Regions from separate parts of the Homo sapiens genome. Here region 1 is linked to region 2. The links are contacts of gene promoters, found by promoter capture Hi-C in human tissues and cell types (Jung and others, 2019). All regions are on one chromosome and are shown on one strand. Each heading gives the region's core, a stretch centred on a gene start or on the middle of the fragment in contact. The rest is flanking DNA. Distances are from core to core; before and after follow the strand shown. Region 1 has its middle 22 kb from the start of BSDC1. Region 2 holds the start of ZBTB8B (zinc finger and BTB domain containing 8B).

The links. The method cuts DNA at HindIII sites, captures the fragments that hold promoters and counts their contacts. A contact is called where the count stands out against the background at its distance.
Region 1: a contact is called between a fragment that was not itself captured here and the fragment with the promoter of ZBTB8B in region 2, in 2 of the 25 tissues and cell types used here (H1 embryonic stem cells and mesenchymal stem cells).

The regions. Positions count from the first base shown.
Region 1 is chr1:32,413,855-32,419,116 of GRCh38, reverse strand. No RefSeq gene overlaps it. Among named protein-coding and RNA genes, the nearest start is that of BSDC1, 22 kb to the right of the region's middle. The HindIII fragment of the contact is 4,517 bases long and covers 1-3,520 here.
Region 2 is chr1:32,463,231-32,468,084 of GRCh38, reverse strand. It overlaps ZBTB8B (zinc finger and BTB domain containing 8B), which reads right to left and starts at 3,013. Exons shown (of 4, transcript NM_001145720.2): 1 at 2,980-3,013. The HindIII fragment of the contact is 24,686 bases long and covers 1-4,854 here.

The DNA.
Region 1 (5,262 bases), core at 13-2,512, 47 kb after region 2:
GCATCAGGAAAGACAATTTTGAAACTTGAAGTTTGATTTTGGGATGCCTGTTAAATGTTAGAGGTTTAAAACACTTGATGTTATGAAATAGAATTCTAGAATGCCATAAATTATTTATTTTGCCAAAATGATGACTCAGAAGGCAAAAACCATTCATTAGCCTTTACTATTACATAAAAATTCTGCTTAAAGACAAATTTTAACCTTGCATTAGTTTGTTAATGTTAACCCCAATGTGTTTAAATGAAACCTTATAGACAATTCTATCTATTGACCATGAGGTGGTCAATTTGACCACAAGGTGAAATCTTTACAAACCCTTTATAACCCCTTTTGCTAAAGGGCAGATTAGTGTCTTAAGACAACCTTGCTGTGCTTTTATTTCAATGTTCAATTTATGAAAAAACCATATAATATCCTTTTGAATTCAGTTAATTTTTATACATTTTTTGCAAGATTACTTTTTACAATCTTTCTATAACTTGCTTAAACCTCTAGCTCTCTTATCAAATTTAACATAATCCCTCATACCAGGGCAAAATTTACATTTCCATGCTTTCTTATAATCTTTACTAAAAAACACATTTTACTGTTTTTATACACCTTGCATGTAAAACTGTTTAGTGATCTCAAATACATGCTGCACTGTTAACTCTTAGCAACTTTTACTTTTGGTGAAAAACCTGGTAAGTAAGCAATTTTAATTATGTACCAAGTGTGGAGCCTAGGACCCAGACAGAAGTGCAGATAAGGTCTGACTCTTTCCAGCATCTAACTCCACATGTCCCAGGCCTTACCCATCTGCAAAGCAGGCAGTATACAACCTTGGAACATTTAGCAAACCTAGTATCTAAGTTGTATGTATTAGACCACCTATTTGCATTTTACCAATAATCCTTATGACTAATTTCTTAAAGACTAAAGTCACGTGAACTAAAAAATATTTGATTTAAGCCCTTATTTTTCTTTCAGCCAATCAATTAGAGCTCTTTTTATAGACATTACACACAAAACATATATAGCGACACAGACACAAGATTCAGCACTTGTTAGATTTTTTATTTGCCGGTTTCTTAATTAAATTATTGGTTTCAGGGTGGAGCCCTTGGAGGAACAGGGCCAGGAAGGCATGCATTTCTAGGGCATAATAAGCAGGCACGGCTGAAGGCAAAGACAGATCCTCAAAATTAAGGGTGTCATTTGATATTGGATCCCCCAAATAGGAGAGATACTATGGGAGAAGACAGTGCAGTGCTTCTACTGTGCATTTCATTGCAAAGCAACCCAAAGCCAATCAACTTATTTTGTAATTAGCCCATCTCCCATGGGAGTCTCATCTCTCGTTGTGGGGATAGGGGGAATGTTTCTGTATCTTTCAGGTGACCAAGAGCATGCTTCTCTGATTTATAACTACTATTAGCCATCCCTTAAAGTGTATTTGCTACCTAGTTATTACACACCAAACCTCTCTCCTAATGTAATTTGATACTCCCAAAATTCAAAACTGTCAGATAACATAATGCAAAACATAATGCAAAAATAAAGCCTTTGATTTTGAGAGAGAAATATCTGCTTCTAGTTCCTGGGGTTTCATGGGGAAAACGAGGTTTTTCTCCCAAAACAGGGTCTGTGGTGCCTCCTCTGGTTTTCCCAAGGAATCCCATGCTACCAGAAGTTATCTTAGAGCCTCTCATTGTGCATTACGAGTGGCAAGATAAAAAATGTAGACTAATAATTCAGTCAACTGAGAAGGAAAAAACCTTTTTCCAGAAAAACAAGATCCAAAAAGAGAAAAACATAAAGGCCATTAAAATATACCTATAACTTGAATATCCACTTTTAATTAACCTGAGTACTCTTTAACAAAATCCTTTTAAATCCCTTGTAACTTGACATTAGCCACCTCAAGCAGTTAAGATTTTTGGCTTTTGAAATTTACAAAAAGTAACCTCACAGGTGAAATCGACAAGCCTTAATTAGGTTATGACTTAACCATGAGTGCATGTGTACAAGGTATTTTTAAAGGGGTGATAGGCGGTTTTTGAAACTGTCATTTCAAAATTGTGACCACGATAGTGAAAGAGATCCAACCCAACCAACTCCATTTTGTTTCCAGCCCCCAAGCTTTCCTTGCTTATCCCTGGGCGTAGACCAAACCAACTTTGGGAGGAGCCTGGTTTAGAGTTTATAGTCTAAAATAAAGATGATGACAGCCCCTTCTTAAGATTTACTTCCTTCTTGCCTGGGTACCAGACCAGGAAACTAGCCACAAGATTAAAAACCATGGCCTAGAAGTCACACAGCTGGAGCCTACAAGATTTTGACTCTCCCTAAACTGCTCTCAAGATCGGTGCTGGCTGGGTGCGGTGGCTCACACCTGTAATCCTGGCACTTTGGGAGGCTGAGGCGGGCAGATCATGAGGTCAGGAGATCAAGACCATCCTGGCTAACATGGTGAAACCCCATCTCTACTAAAAATACAAACAAAAAAAAAAATTAACCGGGCGTGGTGGCAGGCGCCTGTAGTCCCAGCTACTCAGGAGGCTGAGGTAGGAGAATGGCGTGAACCCGGGAGGTAGAGCTTGCAGTGAGCCGAGATGGCGCCACTGCACTCCAGCCTGGGTGACAGAGCGAGACTCCACCTTAAAAAAAAAAAAAAAAAAGATCAGTGCTGAAGACATTTTTAAACCCTCCCCTGGATGGATCAGCTGGCACCATCCAGGTTGACAAACTGGCTTATCTGATTTTGTGGCCCTCACTCAGGAACTGATTTAGCATAAGAAGACAGCCATCATGTAAAATGGTGGCAACTAAAACAAAGTACTGCCATGTGGTTATGGGTCATGATCCCAAGGACATGAAACAAGATAGAGACCTGTAGCCAAGTTTATTACTGACCATTCTGTTGGGCTGCCTTGAACAGCAGGCTTATGAGGTCCACGGTCTGTATCCGAACCTAAGGTACCCTTTCTCTTAACAGAACCATATGGAAAGACACACAAAGCACATCAGAATGGCTACAGCTTAAGACCAACCTCACGATTTTTTTTGATTAATTAAAACTTTACAGAGAATATAAACAATGAACCTTATTATCCCTTTCGCTGGTTTGCATAGGGAGAGAAAAGCCAAAAGCTTGACTGTTAGAAAAAACTTCTACCCTTTTGCCAGCGTGTCAGGCTTCTGGGTTCCCTTCCCCTAGCTCAACTCTAAGCCAAGCATTTTAAGGTTTGGAGAAACTAACTTTTCCCAGTTTGGAAGAACATTATGAAAGAGCCATTTTAAACTGTGAAAGTAGGCCAGGTACAGTGGCTCATGCCTGTAATCCCAGTACTTTGGCGGGTCGAGGTGGGCAGATCACCTGAGGTCAGGAGTTTGAGACCAGCCTGGCCAACATGGTGAAACCCCATCTCTACTAAAAATACAAAATATCAGCTGGACGTGGTGGTGCATGCCTGTAATCCTAGCCACTCAGGAGGTTGAGACAGAAGAATCGCTTGAACCCAGGAGGCAGAGGTTGCAGTGAGCTGAGATCACGCCACTTCACTCCAGCCTGGGCAACAAGAGTGAAACTCAATCTCAAAAAAAATAAATAACAAATAATAAAAATAAATAAACTGTGAAAGAAGGAAAAACACTGTAGAAAAGTCTGGGTGTTCCAGTTAGGGTTGTCAAGAGGTATTTCCTCTCTTCCTATTGGGAATGGTGTTTCCCGTTTTTTTTTTTTTTGCCTTTCGTATTTTCTCTTTTCCTTTTAGGCCTACTATGGGAGACATATTCCTCATCTCCAAATTTCTCTGCTGCCTACAGAGCTGGCTGGCTCTCAGCTGTGGTTAGGGTTTGGCTTAGGAGAAGCATAACACCCCTCCATGAGAGGTCAAATACCTAAGTTACATTTTGGAAAGCTTCTATATACCTATTGGGGTTGTCAGAAAATTGGCCTAAGTCTCTCTTTATTTGCCTAAGGTCCTGTAATGAGAAGGGAACTTGAAAGGGCCCCAAATAAGGGAGATCCTCAGATGGATCCCCCAGAAGTTGCTTCTCTAATTTGGGGGCATTATTCTCTTTGGTCATGCCAAATGTGATTGCTAAAAGGGCTGGGTTAATTTTGTAACACTTGCAAAGGTCTAATAAAAAGGCCATGCCCTTGTGCAAAAGAAAATGAGCCACTTTTTCTTTAAAGTTTCAGGGTGAAAGGAGTCCCAGTGCTTCAGAATGCATTCCAGGGGAGTGCAGGCTGAAGATGGTACCCATCTAGAAAGAGAAGTGAGAAAAAGGCATCCTTTTAGTCTCCTTCCTTTTGGTGTGACCCAGGGTGGAGACGAAGACAGTGGGGGTGTCCCCCTGATGTTTTCCCTCCGTGGTTCCTTGGTCCCAGCACCTTGTTGAACATGCCACCCATGGTTGCAGGCGTGACCTCCAGCCATGGAACCAGAAGAACTAAGCGATTGGGGCTAGTCACGCTCACCCAAGTGACTCTAGTCCTCTGCCTGTGATTTCCCTTTGACTTCCTGGATTTGTGTGATCTACCTGGCTCCCCAAAAATTGGATCCCAAGAAAAGCTATGTAATAGTTGGGCAAGGACCCTTTAATGGAGTGGGAGTGCTAAATTGAACTCTATATCCTGCTATTATGGCCCATACTGAAGCGTTTACCCTTAGAGAATGGTTCTCGTTAACTTCTGAACTTAAAATCCCCTTACCAATTAAGTACCACTCTAATTGGAGGCAGAATAGGTGCCTTAAAAGAATGTAGGTATTGAATGGCCCTTTTACTGTTGATGGGACAGTATTGACACTAAAATTTGGTTTTGGAGGATATTTTACCCCTAATTGTTGAAGGCAGAGTTTTCCCATTTACAGAAGTAGCGTGAAGCCTGGTTTTTAGTAGAGAGGCACAAAAAGGGGAGAGAATTGGGAGGCTAGGGTGTTTCAGTGAAGGACAATGTGCCTCATGGAGAGGATCCCTATTCCACTAGGTGGCGCTGTTTACCTTGAAACGCCATGTGCTCTCTAGACCAAGGACAGAGTGACATTGACATGCCATATGTTCTCCAGACCAAGGACAGAGAGAGACCTGGAAATGCCGTGCTCGCCAGACCAAGCGCAGAGACACATGCTCACTGTTGGGGAGGAACCCTCTGTTCCTAGAAAATCACAAAGACACCTTCCCCTGAGCTATATCCCCAGTTACTATGACATTCCCTGATCTTGCCAAACAAGATTACTTCCCTGAAGTGTAAAACTTCCTGCACACTGCATA
Region 2 (4,854 bases), core at 1,764-4,263:
CAGTGCAGTGGTGTGATCTCGGCCCACTCTGACCTCCGCCTCCCTGGCTAAAGTAATCATCCTACCTCAGCCTCCCGAGTAGCTGGGACTACAGGTACCCACCCCCACGCCAGGCTAATTTTTTTTGTACTTTTGGTAGAGACAGGGTTTTGCCATGTTGCCCAGGCTGGTCTCGAACTCCTGGCCTCAAGTGATCTGCCCCCCTCAGCCTCCTAAAGTGCTGGGGTTACAGGTGTGAGACACCACACCTGGCCTCTGAGTTGGGTTTTCTATTTCATGCAACTGGGAGACTCCTAACTGACTGATTCCACTACCCTTGGTTAACTCCTGTTTATTATTTATGTCCTGGCCCTTCTCTGTCAATGAACTACAAGCCCTTTGAAAGCATGAGCCATGTCTTATTCAATTTTATATCCCTTACAGTATCTGGCAGAGTGCTTTGGACAAAATAGATTTGTTAAGCAAAAAAGGAATATTCATTTCTTAACTGCTTAGTAGATAAACTATAAACCAAGTTTAAAATCCACTTGGGGCCGGGTGTGGTGGCTCACACTTGTAATCCCAGCACTTTGGGAGGCCAAGGTGGGTAGATCACCTGGGGTCAGGAGTTCGAGACCAGCCTGGCCAACGTAGTGAAACCCCGTCTCTACTAAAAATACAAAAAAATTAGCTGGGCATGGTGGCGGGCACCTGTAATCCCAGCTACTCGGGAGGCTGAGGCAGGAGAATCACTTGAACCCAGGAGGCGGTGGAGGCGGAGGCTGCAGTGAGCAGAGATTGTGCCACTGCACTCCAGCCTGGGCGATAGTGCGAGACTCCATCTCAAAAAAAAAAAAAAAAACAAGTGTGTGGAGGGACTTTCGCCTTTCATTTTAAACCTTTCTGATAGAATGTTTTACTATGTGCATGTATTGCTTTTCTTTTCTTTTGAGACGGGGTCTTACTTTGTTACCCAGGCTGGAGTGCAGTCCATGATCACAGTTCACTGCCGCCTCGACCTCCCAGGCTCAAGCAATCCTCCTACCTCAGCCTCCCAAGTAGCTGTGACTACAGGCATGCAGCACCACACTCAGCTAATTCTGAAAACATTTTTTTGTAGAGATGGGGTCTCACTATGTTGCCCTGGCTGGTCTCAATGGTCTTGAACTCCTGGACTCAAGTGATCCTTCTGCCTTGGCTTTTTTCTTTGTTAACTAAGAAAAAAAGGAGGCAGGGCAGAGGGGTAAGGAGTTGGTAAGCCAGGTAGATAAATATGTAAGTACGCACAACACTTCTTAACTTGTAGTATGGTCTGATCTATAGGGGCTCTTCCCAGGGCACTTCCGTCTTTCACTGGAAAAGCCTCCTTTCCAGAAATAGCACCTAAAACCAATTTCTTTTGGCTTTCTTACTGAAATTATTTTTTATTCTATTGCAATTATTTTTATTCTACTTCCTGACGTTGCAAAAGTCTATCCGTATAGTATTTTCTTCAAAATTTTCCCCAATCCTGTACTTGGTATATATTGTGTAAATATTTATTTATATCACCCCCATTTGCCTGAAGTGCTCTGCTGCCCCGGGAAGTGCTGAGGATCACCACTTATCCCAGAAGAGCAGCTCTTAGGGCAGACTGCTCTCAGAAGCACATTTATCCGCACTCTGGCAGGGAACCTCCCAACCATCCCACGGTTCCAACTCAATTCAACGGTTACCGGCTACATACAATGCCTGACACAAGGAAGATGCCAGGAATAGAAAAATGAACCAAGTATAGTGCCTGTCCTCCAGGAGACAGCAGATGCCAACACAACTACCTGCAATACAAACTCTCATATACCCTTGAGGGAGTCCTAGCCAGATCACACAACTGTCTCTGTTCAGAGGCCAAAAGCAGCCTTGAATTCCACCTCCGACCCTTTCTGACAAGACTCCTCCAGTCCCACCAACCTGAGAATAACAAAAACCTGCTCCTCAATTTTAGTAAATATTAAGCACTATTCCTTATAAAACACTGTACAAAGTACAAGCATATTCATTTTACTTTTTAAATTAAAATTTTTAAAAGGCACGGTCTTGCTCGGTTGCCCAGGTTGGAGTGCACGATCCTACCTCAATGCAGCCTGGAACTCCTGGGCTCAAGAGATCCTCCCAACCTTAGCTTCCCGAGTAGCAGGGACTACAGGTGCGCGCCACCATGCCTGGCTTTTACAAGCACATTAGTTTTCACCTCACAATAATCCAGTACGACAGATACTCTAACTACATCCTCTTTTTCAGAGGAGGAACTGAGATTCAAAGATGCAGATAACATCACCAAGTTAGTAATAGAACAGAGATCCGACTGACTCCCGGGTTGACATCCTTAACCACTATGCTAACCGGCCTCCTCAAACCCTCCAGGACACGATGCGACAGGTTGGGGAAGTCACTCCTTTCTTTTAGGCATGGATCGGAGGAGAAGGACACTGGAGAAGTTTCCATTTCCATACGAAGAATTTCAGGGTCAACTGCATCTAAACTGCTCGCAAGACAGACCCTCCCCCGTCCAGCATCAGACGACCTGCAGAGAGGCCACCAGAACCAGCTACAGGGCACGGCCCCCGAGGGTGGGACCCCAAGGCCTAGCCCCTCCCATGGCCTCCCGCGGACAAAGTGGCCATCGCTGCCGCTGGCACTTCTCCAGTGTGGCCGAGCCCCCCACGCCTGGGCACCATTCACCGTGGAAGTAGTCGGCGCCGCGACCCCCGGCTGGACGACGCGGAGGACACCCAATGACAGGGAAGCTGGGGCCCCACGGCCGCGCCTGCCCCTCCCCACGCTAGAAGGGCTCGCGGGGCGGAGGTCCCAGGAGTTGCCAGGGCCAAGCGGTCCGAAGGAGGATGACTGAGTGGGGGCAACCCTGCCCGCTAACCCCAATCTCCAGCCAGCCTCCCGGGTGCTAGGAATCCTCCCCAAACCAACGAAAGCGGCAGCGCCAACCCGCTTCTTCGCGCTCACCTTCCAGCGGGTTCCAGCAGCGCAGCCACGGAGCACCGCGCACCGACACGCCCCCCTTTCATTCACCTGGCGCCCTCCGATGAGAGGCGGGGCGGCTGGCCAATCGCGGGAGCGCCTGGCCTCGGGAAGGCGGGCCCTTCGGCCAGCAGGGTGGTCAATGGCGCTGGTGCCCCTCGGAGGATGCGCTCTGAAGGCGCTGGTGCTCGCAGGGTGATGGGAGTTGTGGTCTCAGCGCTGGCTTTTCGGGTAAAGATAGAGTGGACAAAACTACAAGTACCAAGATGCCAAAAGGGGCGAGGACCAGTGCTAGCGAAAGGCTGCAGCTCGGTTCGGTCTTTTGAGTCCCACTTGAGGGACCTGCCAAGTACCGGTCTCTTTGTCTGGAGAGCGAAAAGCACGTCGTGGGTATTAATGCAGTCCAGGGAATAAGAGCTTTGACTCATCAGTCCGCACATATTTCACCTACTGGCGCTTTCCGCAAAAATCTGGAAATAAGGGAAATGGTTTAATCGATTCAACAGGTTTTTATTGCATACCCGCGGTTTCTTTCACTGGGTAGTCGTTACAAAAGATAAAAGATTCAGCTCTTCCCTTGACAGGCTCTCCGGTTCATACATACTAGTGAAACGGTTAAATGGCAGTACTAGGTGCTAAGTGACCGTACAGGCGTGTTCTTGTCAGCTGTGAGCAAGACAAGGCAGCTTACCGCTCTCAGGGAGCTTAGTTCTCATGGGGGTGTATTCGTTTGCTAGGGCTGCTGTACCTAAGTATCACCAACCCGGTGGCGTCAATAACAGATCTTATTGTCTGACAATCCTGGGGGCATCTGAAAGCAAGATGTTGGCAGGGTTCTTTCCTTCTGAGCGCTGTGAGGAAACGGTCTCTTCCAGGCTTCTCTCCTGGGCTTGCATATGGCCATCTTCATGTTCACAGGGCATATTCCCTGTATATGTCTCCATGTCAAAATGTCTCCTTTTGGTTGCAGTGAGTCGAGATCGCGCCACTGCACTCCAGCCTGGGGCGACAGAGAGAGACTCCGTCTCCAAAAAAAAAGTATTTTTATAAGGATACCAGTCATATTGGATTAGGGGTTCACTCTATGCCAGTATGACTTTTTTTTTTTTTTTTTTTTTTTTTTTGAGACGGAGTCTCAGACTCTGTTGCCCAGGCTGGAGTGGTGGCGGGTGGATCACCTGAGGTCAGGAGTCCGAGACCAGCCTGGCCAACATGGTGAAACCCCATCTCTACTAAAAATACAAAAATTAGCCGGGCGTGGGCCAGTAATCCCAGCTACTTGGGAGGCTGAGGCAGGAGAATGCTTGAACCAAAGAGATTGCAGTGAGTGGAGATCTGGCCACTGCACTCCAGCCTGGGCAGCAGAGCAAGACTCTGTCTCAAAAAAAAAAAAAAAAAAAAAAAAGGCTACCCCCTTCGCTGAGAGACCCTAATGAGGAGTAGTGAGCCATGCTAAGATAAAACAGAAAACCGGTTGGTACATATCTAAGAAACAGGAGAATGCCATTGGGTTGAGGAAGTGGATGGCAGGTAGACCAGCTTAATGGACGTGCAACCCACGCAGTGGCACAGGCCCGCACACTCAGAAAGGGCTGGTGCTTCCAGGTGAGGTTTTATACTTAACAAAACAAAACAAAAAAAGAGCCAGGTGCGGTGGCTTACACCTGTAATCCCAGCACTTTGGGAGGCTGAGGCGGGCGGATCACTTGAGACCAGCCTGGCCAACATGGCAAAACCCAGTGTCTACTAAAAATACAAAAATTAGCTGGGCATGGTGACACATACCTGTAATCCCAGCTACTCGGGAGGCTGAGGCATGAGAATCACTTGAACATGGAAAGTGGAGGTTGCAGTGAGCTG